Linked DNA regions of Homo sapiens: regions 1, 3 and 4 are each linked to region 2. Evidence: promoter capture Hi-C in 16 types of primary human blood cells and fetal thymus (Javierre and others, 2016). All regions are on one chromosome and are shown on one strand. The core of a region is centred on a gene start or on the middle of the fragment in contact, and the rest is flanking DNA. Distances in the headings are between cores, read along the strand shown.

The links. Contacts are between HindIII fragments. The CHiCAGO score rates a contact against its expected background, and 5 or more counts as called.
Region 1: a fragment that was not itself captured here is called in contact with the fragment with the promoter of HCN4 in region 2 in 2 of 17 cell types (M1 macrophages and endothelial precursors); the score reaches 5.7 in M1 macrophages.
Region 3: a fragment that was not itself captured here is called in contact with the fragment with the promoter of HCN4 in region 2 in 1 of 17 cell types (M2 macrophages); the score reaches 5.9 in M2 macrophages.
Region 4: a contact is called between a fragment that was not itself captured here and the fragment with the promoter of HCN4 in region 2, in 1 of 17 cell types (M2 macrophages). The highest score is 5.0, in M2 macrophages.

What each region holds. Positions count from the first base shown.
Region 1 is chr15:73,767,633-73,770,332 of GRCh38, reverse strand. INSYN1-AS1 (INSYN1 antisense RNA 1) reads right to left here and starts at 2,247. Exons shown (of 3, transcript NR_120353.1): 1 at 2,147-2,247; 2 at 1,473-1,580; 3 at 531-863. The HindIII fragment of the contact is 1,064 bases long and covers 729-1,792 here.
Region 2 is chr15:73,367,581-73,370,417 of GRCh38, reverse strand. It overlaps HCN4 (hyperpolarization activated cyclic nucleotide gated potassium channel 4), which reads left to right and starts at 1,460. Exons shown (of 8, transcript NM_005477.3): 1 at 1,460-2,837. The coding sequence starts at 2,148. The HindIII fragment of the contact is 7,030 bases long and covers 1-2,837 here.
Region 3 is chr15:73,832,652-73,835,351 of GRCh38, reverse strand. No RefSeq gene overlaps it. Among named protein-coding and RNA genes, the nearest start is that of TBC1D21, 40 kb to the left of the region's middle. The HindIII fragment of the contact is 1,601 bases long and covers 634-2,234 here.
Region 4 is chr15:73,858,515-73,861,214 of GRCh38, reverse strand. No RefSeq gene overlaps it. Among named protein-coding and RNA genes, the nearest start is that of TBC1D21, 14 kb to the left of the region's middle. The HindIII fragment of the contact is 214 bases long and covers 1,332-1,545 here.

The DNA.
Region 1 (2,700 bases), core at 11-2,510, 400 kb before region 2:
AAACCTTAAGAAGAAGAAAACTGAGGAGTGAGGCAGTAGCTCAAGGGTACTCAAGGTTGCAGAACAAGCCCAACCACCTCAAAGGTCTCCTGTTAGGGCCCAGCCTAGCAGGGAGGGGGAGAGAAAGATGGGGTGCACCAGCTGGAGCTGCAGAGGGCAGGGAAGTGGGGAGGAAAGGGGTATCCTGAAACATCTTTCTGGGCTGGTAACAGTTGGGCTTGGACTGGGAGCTGCCCTGTTGGGGGAATATCCAACCCTGTGGGCCTGGTTACCAGCAGCCCTGGCAGACAGCAGCTCAGGCCAATGGGATGCAGGCAGTTCTGAGAGCCGGTACCTGACTGCTGGGGGCTCCAGGATGCAGCAAGTCCAGGGTAGAGGACTGCAGACCCTGATGGAGAACTGTCATCCACTGCGGGGCACAGAGTCCAGCAACGAGATTCCAGCTAAGTGTCGCTGAACATCTGATGGGCTGATTACAAATTGGTCCCCTGGATTCATTAAAGTAGATTTCCCAAGAGAAGCTGTCCACGGCAGAGTCACACCCAGCCAACCTTTGAGCTCCATTCTGATGTCAGGGGCTGGCTCCTCAGCTCTCTGCCTCCAGGCTCCTGGCAACTGGGCCCTTTCTTGCTTGGGGTGGCATGATTCCCCTGGAGGCATCCGGCAGGTCTGCAGATGCACAGGCACTAGATGCAGTGCCCCCAGGGCCATTCTCAGAAAGTGAAGCTTGATTTTTTTTCTCCATCCATGGTGTGAGTATGGCATGAAATGCATGCACGGCTCCTCTCACATGATGAACAATCTCTGGGATTTACACCCAAACTTCTCCTTTCTCTCTTGTCCTCCTCACTCATGGGCCCCATCTGCATGAGAAGAAAAGAGAAGAAGAGAAGAGAGGAGGAGAGGAGAGGAGAGAAGAGGAAAGGAGAGAAGAGAAGAGAAGAAAGAAAAAGAAAAAGAAAAAACAAAAATCAAACAAACAAGACATCACTCATTCCCCCCGTCTACCCTCCCACCCCACCCCACCCCATTTGCTCCCCACCCACTCATACAACTGCCCCTGTCCAGGGAAAAGACAATTACTTCCAGATAAGATGTTGCCATTTACAAGGAGATTTCATGCAAAGCAATGGTTGGAGCTTCCATGGTAGAATTTTAGGACAATATGTAGGAGTACAATATTTTAGACATTGAATTATGTGAGGATCAAATAATTGAAAGCTGGAATTTTTTTTTCTTTTTGAGACGGAGTCTCGCTCTGTTGCCCTGGCTGGAGCACAGTGGCATGTTCTCCACTCACTGCAACATCCACCTCCCAAGTTCAAGCAATTCTCATGCCTCAGCCTCCCAAGAATCTGGGATAACAGGTGGCCACCACCATGCCCGCCTAATTTTTGTATTTTTATAGAGACGAGGCTTTACCATGTAGGTGAGGCTGGTCACAAACTCCTGACCTCAGGTGATCCGCCCACCTTGGCCTCCTAAAGTGCTGGAATTATAGTCATGAGCCACCACGCCCGGCCAAAAGCTGGAAATTAATGAGTTCAATGCAGACTTCAAACTTCTTGAGGAGGCTGTGGCTGTTGAGTGGTGGAGAGGAGAGGAAGGGAAGGAGGGAGGAAACAAACACATATTGAGCACCTACTCGGTGCTTTCCCTGTGATGTCCCATGTAGGCCACAACCATAGAGTGCAGGCATTATTTATGCCTGGTTTCAAACCCTGGTCACTTGGATCCCATGATCCTGTGTTCCCAAGCTCCAGCCCCCAGCTGCTCCTGAGAAAGTCAAGCTTCAGAGAGCAGGGCTCCCACTCCCAACCAGATGCTCATGGCTTTCTCCTTTCACACCCAGGCCTCTACTCTGCTGTTCACCTACCTTGGTCTTTTTATCTGCCTTGGTGCCTGGAATTACCGGATCACTGCTTCCTACCTTGGGGTCAGAATTGCCCTCCCACAGGTACTCTGTGACCACACAGACATCCCTGTGGGGGCCACACTCAGCACCAAGCCCTCATGGAAAGCAACTTTTTAGGCAGGATGGGGTGGGGCACAGAAAGGAAAGGTGGGGCGGCGGTTTCTGTTGCAGGTCCTGGCCTGGCATGTCCCCAGCCCCCAACCTTCCCTCTTCAGCAAGCTCACTGATTACCTGGAGTCCTCATCCTCAAGGCTGGAGTCTGGGAGAAGACTCTTGGAGGTGGGTTTGTTTGGCCTAATTCACCAAGGCCCCCTGGCTCCCTTGGTCTTGTCACCATGGAAACCTTGTGAGGTCACCAGCACCATTCAAATAAGAGAAAAAAACGTTTCTCCCTCCCACAAAGTGAGCTCCTAGTTGACTCCAGTGGCTTCTATGGAGGAACCGGAGGGCGGGGCCCAGTCCGAGGAAAAGACCTGGCCCAGCCCTCAGGGATGGGTTAACCCCTTGATGCCCAGATGATGGCTGCTCAGACTCACGCCTTCTGCCTCTCTGAAGTTTCTCAGGCATCTGTGCCCCGGAAGAGTGAATCCTGCAGCTTTGTATACACACCAAACAGCTTCATGCTATACCTGGAAAGGTGGGGAAGGAGCTCTGAATCCAGGCAATTCTAGTGAACAAAAACTGCCTACTGGAGATTCAGGGAGCTGTTGAGAGGCAGGGAGCCGGGGGAGAGAAGGGAGCTGGAGCTCTGGGTCCCTGCTTCAGACCCTTCTCCCTCTCAAGCA
Region 2 (2,837 bases), core at 211-2,710:
CTTCCAGCATCTGTGCAGAGAACTGTCAGCTCAGAGCTGCTCAAAAGTAAAAATGCCAGCTACCAGTGATGTCATCACCCTAGTCATTCCTCTCACTGTGGGAGGTCCTGTGGTCCAGTGGGTAGAGCAGAAGAGCCCCTGCTAGGCTGCCCGCCCCGCATCCTGCTCTCCAAATTCCTACTCTGGATGGAGGAGGCGAAAGTGGTCACATTGGGCTAAGAATGAGAGTAAAAAAATCATTTGAAGAAAAACTTGATGTTATTCCTCAGAGAGATGGCAGAGCCAGGGGACCTTTTTGCCTCCCTCCTGTGAGACTTTGCTGTGTGTCCGCTCCAGCATTAACCTCGGCTCCAGCCTTCTCTGGACAACTCCCCTCCCCTTAATGCCCAATCTGTCCCCCTATCCATTTCTGAGCTAATCTGGGGTATCAGGCTGTCCATGGTGTTGGAGGGGGTAGGGCTATACCTTAGGCTGAGCTAGTGAAATCTGTCCATAAGCCCGGACACTGTACACTGGGAGAGACTGGGAGAGAGGACACACAGTTGGATCCTTGGCGGGGGTTGGGGGGAAGGGGGCTGGGCTGCAGACTGGAAGGGAGTGGGGGCTGTGCAGCTGCTTGGGGGTGCAGGTAGGGGACTGGGTGGAACAGGAACTCACCCAGCGTGGGTCCACATAGTAGGTGTCATAATGTGGATGGGAACACAGGGAGAAGGGGCTCCAAAGCCAGTTCCAGAGTGCTGGGGCGTCCGAGGAACCGGCCCAACCGCTCCCCGCTGCAGCCGGCTTGTCCCTTTCTCGGAACTACCGAGGGAGAGGCGCGTGCGGAGGTCGGCGTTCGGATCTCGCATCCGTCACTGTTGCCGGCGCATTTCCTCGAAGTCTTACCTCGAAGGGCTGGGTCCCACCCGCGCGCCCTGTGCGTGTCTCCCTGTTTCCCCACGCCCTCCTTGCCTGGCTGCTGCGAGGCTTTGCAGGGGAAAGACTGGCGCGGGGTTCGCACCCTGCCCATGTCACAGGAAAACCGTGGGAGCCTCCCCGACGCGGCGCATTTCCGGAAGCCCCCTCTCCAGGAGGGTTGCGGGAAGGCCGGGACTCTGCATCCAGACGAACCCGGTCGCCTCCCAAGAGGAAAGTCGGAGACCCAGCTGAGGGGCAAAAATGCCAGGGAAAGGCGAGCCCAGAGCTTGGTGATGGAGAAATTGGGAAGCCACCCCCCACCCTTCAATCTTAGGATGGGGAATTCGCAACTGAAGCCGGAGCTTCAGACTTGGGGCGCACTCCCAGCTTAGCCCAGGAAAGAGATTTAAGGGCGCAGCAGTGTGGATACCTCTCACCCCGGCCCCGAAGGTCTAGCGAGGGTCTAACCTGGGCCCCTTGCCAGGCCCGCCCCCCGCCCCTTTCCAGCCCCCGGCCCGTGCGCCGCTGCCCCTTTAAGAAGCCCAGGTAGGCAGGCCCGGCTGCTGGAGCCGCTCCTATGGCAACCCGCGAGCTGCGGCGGCTTCATGAATATTCCGGGGCGCGGGAGCCCGAGCGCTGCCGGAGGGCGCTTCGGGGGAGGCGGCCGCTGATGTAAGCCCGGCGGGTCGCTGGGCTCCGCTCGGTTGCGGCGGGAGCCCCGGGACGGGCCGGACGGGCCGGGGCAGAGGAGGCGAGGCGAGCTCGCGGGTGGCCAGCCACAAAGCCCGGGCGGCGAGACAGACGGACAGCCAGCCCTCCCGCGGGACGCACGCCCGGGACCCGCGCGGGCCGTGCGCTCTGCACTCCGGAGCGGTTCCCTGAGCGCCGCGGCCGCAGAGCCTCTCCGGCCGGCGCCCATTGTTCCCCGCGGGGGCGGGGCGCCTGGAGCCGGGCGGCGCGCCGCGCCCCTGAACGCCAGAGGGAGGGAGGGAGGCAAGAAGGGAGCGCGGGGTCCCCGCGCCCAGCCGGGCCCGGGAGGAGGTGTAGCGCGGCGAGCCCGGGGACTCGGAGCGGGACTAGGATCCTCCCCGCGGCGCGCAGCCTGCCCAAGCATGGGCGCCTGAGGCTGCCCCCACGCCGGCGGCAAAGGACGCGTCCCCACGGGCGGACTGACCGGCGGGCGGACCTGGAGCCCGTCCGCGGCGCCGCGCTCCTGCCCCCGGCCCGGTCCGACCCCGGCCCCTGGCGCCATGGACAAGCTGCCGCCGTCCATGCGCAAGCGGCTCTACAGCCTCCCGCAGCAGGTGGGGGCCAAGGCGTGGATCATGGACGAGGAAGAGGACGCCGAGGAGGAGGGGGCCGGGGGCCGCCAAGACCCCAGCCGCAGGAGCATCCGGCTGCGGCCACTGCCCTCGCCCTCCCCCTCGGCGGCCGCGGGTGGCACGGAGTCCCGGAGCTCGGCCCTCGGGGCAGCGGACAGCGAAGGGCCGGCCCGCGGCGCGGGCAAGTCCAGCACGAACGGCGACTGCAGGCGCTTCCGCGGGAGCCTGGCCTCGCTGGGCAGCCGGGGCGGCGGCAGCGGCGGCACGGGGAGCGGCAGCAGTCACGGACACCTGCATGACTCCGCGGAGGAGCGGCGGCTCATCGCCGAGGGCGACGCGTCCCCCGGCGAGGACAGGACGCCCCCAGGCCTGGCGGCCGAGCCCGAGCGCCCCGGCGCCTCGGCGCAGCCCGCAGCCTCGCCGCCGCCGCCCCAGCAGCCACCGCAGCCGGCCTCCGCCTCCTGCGAGCAGCCCTCGGTGGACACCGCTATCAAAGTGGAGGGAGGCGCGGCTGCCGGCGACCAGATCCTCCCGGAGGCCGAGGTGCGCCTGGGCCAGGCCGGCTTCATGCAGCGCCAGTTCGGGGCCATGCTCCAACCCGGGGTCAACAAATTCTCC
Region 3 (2,700 bases), core at 185-2,684, 460 kb before region 2:
TGGGTTGGAATCATTTGAGCTCTGTGATGTCCAACCAGACTGTGAGATTGTTCTGAGGGCAAGAAACATTTCTTATTCTTTTTATCCCCTCCTTCCTTCCCCAGTAGGGTACCACACACTTAGCAAATAAAAACACAGCACACCCACTTAAATGTGAATTTCAGAAGAACAACAGACAATTTTAGTTTAAGTATGTCCCATGCAATATTTCTGACATGGTTATACTACAAAATGATTTGTTGTTTCTCTGAAATTCAAATTTCATTTTAATGGATATTTGAATCTGCATTGAGTTTATTTATTTTTTAAAATTTCTTTGTGTGAAGCAGAACTAAGTGCCAGAAAAAACTAAAAATCAATGAAAATAAAATTTCTCTTCGTAGAGATGGGGGTCTTGCTATGTTGCCCAGGCTGATCTTGAACTCCAACCCTCCTCCCACCTTGGCCTCCCAAAATGCTGGGATTATACACGTGAGTGACTGCACCCAACCCTGAATTTATATTTAATTTGCATTTTGTCTACAACCCTATCCCAGACCCTGTCCTGTACCTAACCTGCACACAACACATGTTTGTTGAATGAGGCCTGAAAGGAGGAACACATGGGAGCCTCATGTATGAACCAAAGAAGCTTTACCCACCTCGCTTACTTTCCAGAGTGGCAGCTAAAATAAAACTGGTAAAAAGTGCTTTAGAAACACTAAAGCTGTGTACAAATGTGGTTTGTTATTACAGTCATCATCACCATTGCCATCACCTAAATAGCCCCAAATACGTCTGAGCTAGACTTTCTGAGCATTTGTGTATGTCAGTAATTCTTTTATATTGCTCAGACCAATCTGGATTTAGCACATTAGGGAAGATGACATTATATTACAATCATGTTATTACTATTATTACCACTCTTGATGTTGTTACAGTATGTTTCTTTATGAATCACTATGATTATTTTCCCTGCAAAGAATTTTGTGTTCTTGTCAGTGAATTTATTGTAATAATGAAACCCAAGACTTTCCCCAGGGCTCTGAGTGGCAGGTGCCTGGAAGCCCTACCTTCCTATCAAGAACCACATCCACCCGGGAGCAGTGGTTCATACCTGTAATCCCAGCACTTTGGGAGGCCAAGGCGGGCAGATCACTTGAGGTCAGGAGTTTGAGACCAGACTGGCCAACATGGAGAAACCCCGTCTCTACAAAAAATACAAAAATTAGGCAGGCATGGTGGCACACAGCCTGTGGTTCCAGCTACATGGCAGGCTGAGATGGGAGGATCAATTGAGCCCAGGAGGCGGAGGTTGCACTGAGCCAAGATTGCACCACTGCACTCCAGGCTGGGCGAAAAGCAAGACTCTGTCAAAAAAAAAAAAAAAAAATAGATAGATAAAAGAGCCACAACAACCATCAGTGGGTACCAAACCAAGAGAGTAAGTGTGCTGGCATTGGACCCTTTGTTTCGGGGGAAACAGAGATACAAGGTTAATTTCTGAGCCCAAACCCAGGTCAGCAGTTCCTAGAGTGTGCTCCTTGGACCAACAGCATTGGCATTACCTGATAGCTTGTTAGAAATACACATTCTTGGACTCCACTCTAGGCCGCTCAAATCAGAAATTCTGAGGGTGGGGTCCAGCAATCTATGTTTCAACAAGCTATCCAGCTGATTTGATTTCTCCCAAAGTTTGAGAATCACTGATCTAGGTGGAGGTGAGAGAACATGGAGCTCTCGCGTCCCTTCCAACCTAATGACTATAATTCAATTGTGTTCATGGAATCCAGGAAAATGAAGCCAAAGGAGTGGCGGAGGGAATGAGGGCACAGGGAGACAGGAGAGAGAAAATTAGAGAGGAGAGCATTGGCAGATGTGGTGTCAGACCCCCATGGCCATGGTCCTCCTTGAATCCCAGGTCCCCCAGGGAAAGAGTGAGTTTCTACAGGTGGAGATGGGGAAGTGTGGAGTGCTCCACACAGAACAAATGTTGTGCAAAGGTCCTGAGGATTGGCAGCAAGGGGCAAGTATGGGAAAGAGTGGGTTTCTAGGTGTGGCTGTAATCTGTGATAGGAGTGAAGATGGCTTAGAACCAGAGTATGGCAGCCCTTTGATGCCAAGAAGCCCATTCAGATTTCACCCAGCAGATGTCTGAAGGCCTCTGAAGGCTTTTGACCGGAGAGGGGCATGGTCATAGCTGTGCTTGGGTAAGATGAAGAGTGGAGGTAAGCTGAAAGCATAGCAAGGAAGCTTCCGTCAGGGCTGACTCTTCCAGTCACACAGCCAAGCCCTGGGGTTGCACAAGGCCACTTTGTGGCATAATGCCCTGGCTCTAAGAGTAAGGTTGGTCTTCTTCCCTGCAAAGGTGTCTGTTTTTATTTTTCATTAGAAAAATAAAAAACCAGTCCTGGCTGGCTGGACTTTGCAGCTCCTACCAGCTGTGGATTGGGACCTGTGGCAGACATAGCCATGACAGCTCCAGTTCCCCAACAAGGGCCTCAGCGGAGCTGTCCAGCAGAGGTTTTGATCTGACAGCAGCTGTGCTGTGGACACTTCTGAGGATTGGGATTTGGGGGCAGGTGAGGTAGGTGGGACTCACAGAGGGGAAGAAGGCAGATGGAATGCTGCCCTGCACCTCCCTGCCTCCCTGGTCTGTGGGAGGAAGCTGCCCCTGGACATGGTATCCCTAAGGTTTGGAGAAGGAGGAAGTCAGGATGG
Region 4 (2,700 bases), core at 189-2,688, 490 kb before region 2:
TCAAACTTTAATTGAAGAAAAAGTGAAGGTCTTGTTCTTATTTTATTGCATTTATGCATAGAACAATAAGATTGGTAAGTGGAGCTTAATCCTTCTAAAAAGCTATGTTTTTATATGTGTATCCTTAATAAATTGCCTATTAAATTTTAAAAGGTAGCTATAAATAGTATTTCTGTGTGCACAAGCCCCCACACACTCAGCAAAAAAGCCTCATCGACAGGATGCTTCCTTCCACCACTCCCAGGCAACTCTCACTGTCAGAAAGATGTCTTTCTCTCCACCTGAAATCCATGGGTAGTATAGACTGTAGAAGATACAAGCATTTGGAGACAGATTGGAGAGGAACTTTACTCCTCTGTGCCACCCTCTCCCTTCTCTGAGCATCTACTCTCCACACAACAGCTCCTGCTCACACTCTGTCCTGCTCTAGCCTGTCGCTCTTCTCTGGGTGGTTCTGTACCCAGGAAGAGAGCTGGAGGGAAGGTCCCTCCCCTGACAGCCCTGCTCCAGGATGGGCTCAGAGCAGGTGCTGAACCTGTGCAGGGACCACTGGGGCAGCTGGCCGGGGAACATGAGGCGGGGAGGAGAGGCCAGGTCCTGGCCATGTTTCTCAAAGCCTAGGCTGCAAAGAGGCCAGCAAAGAGGGGACAGTGAGGCCTCAAGCACATTGGGGACCACCTCTCTGGACTCAATAATGAAAACATCTGTATAAAGAACTTGATGGTTTCAGAAGGTTTCCATCCTGCGGCCATTTGACAGTGGGAGTTATTACCTCTTACCTGCAGAAGAAATATCCAGGGGTCCAAAAGAAGCACTGTACCTTCCAAGGTCACAAAGATATCAAGGGAAAACACCCAGACTAGAAGCCAAGGCTCCGGACTTTCAGCCTCTTAGTCTTTGCCTCTAGCATTCACAGGGGTGGGGTTCGAGGAGATAGTGTGAGAACAGAGCAGTGAGTGAGCAGCCACTCTGCATCCACAAACAGCCTCTCCCTGCTTCCTTCAAGTTTATCTGCTGGAAAGAGGGGTAGACGAGGGAGGAGGTAGAGCCAGAGAGGCATCGCGTCAGCCGCTCACTGTCTGTGATGGGTGCAATCTGGAAGCCCCAGTGGCCTAGCTCTCTACCCTAGGGCTGCAGTAGAGCCCTACCCTAGGGCCACAGAGACACCATGGACTTCTGCCCCAGGCTTCTTCCTGGTATGCCAGGGAGATGCATGAGGTGAGCATCTTTGGAGCTTTCCCACCTCCTTGAGTAAGCAGTGATAATACTGGCTGGAGGAGAAGCTCTAGTTCAGATCTAGCCTCCCTTCCTGCACTGTACCCCAGGAAGCTTTGCTCCCTAGGTGTGAACCTGGCTGGATTCCAGCTTCTGAGATCTTTCATCCTGGTTTTCAGTGAGCTGGAGTGGAAAAGTCTTTCTCTGTGTGGTTAATTTTGCACTGGCCCATTTTCCCTTTCTCTGTCCTCTTCTTACCTGACTCTAGGGGATGCCAAGGGAGGAAGACACAGCCAGTCAGCATTCCTTCCTAGGAGCCCATCAGAAGCTTCCAGGAGAGAGCCTTGGATGATGTGTGTGTGTGTGTGTGTGTGTGTGTGTGTGTGTGTGAATTTCCTGAAGACTGGCCAGGCCTCCCCAATCAGACAGGCAGGGACCCAGCCTTGACCAGCAGAGCTTTCAGAAGAGATGTCTCCCAACACCAAGGCCTCCTTATCCCACTGGCAGGTTCAGAAAGTGGAAGATGCTGGCAGTCAAAAGAACCCAGGCCAGCTCATTAGCCACCACTATCCAAAGGACTGGCCAGGCTGCTGGCAGGTGGGAAGCTTTGTCACACAACCCAGGCCAGTGAGGAACCAGGCCAGAGCTGGCAACCGGAGGACCGGATACCTGAGCACACTCCACAGATGCTCAGCCCTGACGGGGGTGGGGGGGGCGGGGGGGGTGGGAAATGAGTCAGCACAGCCCCTCATTATACAGATGGGAAACTGAGGCTCGGAGGGGGGCAAGCCCCTGGCAAATGTTGCAGGGCAAGGTAGGGACTGAAAACAGGTCTTTGAATTTCAATGTGGGTTTTTTACATAGTACCATGTCTCATTGTTCTAAAATCAGTAGATGGAAAGTTTGTTCATCTTTATTCATTGCCCCCTCCCAGGATACTTTTGGGTACCCGGCTAGTGCTGAGGCTTGGGGAGACCCAGGATTACGTGAGAGCCACTCTCTCAGTTGGGCCTTCCTCCCTACTTAGTGTTCAGGAGCCACGGCATGGGTTGGTAACTATGAAAGGGGATGTGCTGCAATAAAGCTACCAGCAGAGCAAAGGGGGATACAGGAAGACAGGAGACAGAAGGGGAGGGATTTTACTCACTTATACCTTACTTCATTCCCAAAAGATTGATGGTGGCAGAGAGGCTGTGAACCTACAAAGGTTTCAGGGTATGAGCTGGTCTTAAAGAGTGAACAGGATTCAGAGGACAAGATGAGGATGGGTCTTCCAGGAGGAAGGAACAGGTTGTGTAAAGACACAGGACATGTGTGAGGTCTCGTAGAGCCCAAGGTGGCTGAGGCAGAGGGGGCAGTGGAAATGCTGAAGGAGTGATGGTCCTGTTCAGATGGCCAGCCCATCGTGGGAACCATTGTGGATGAGCCTGCCCTTCAAAAGGCTGGTCACCTTGGCCTCAGTCACTGTTGTTGTATAACAAAGTC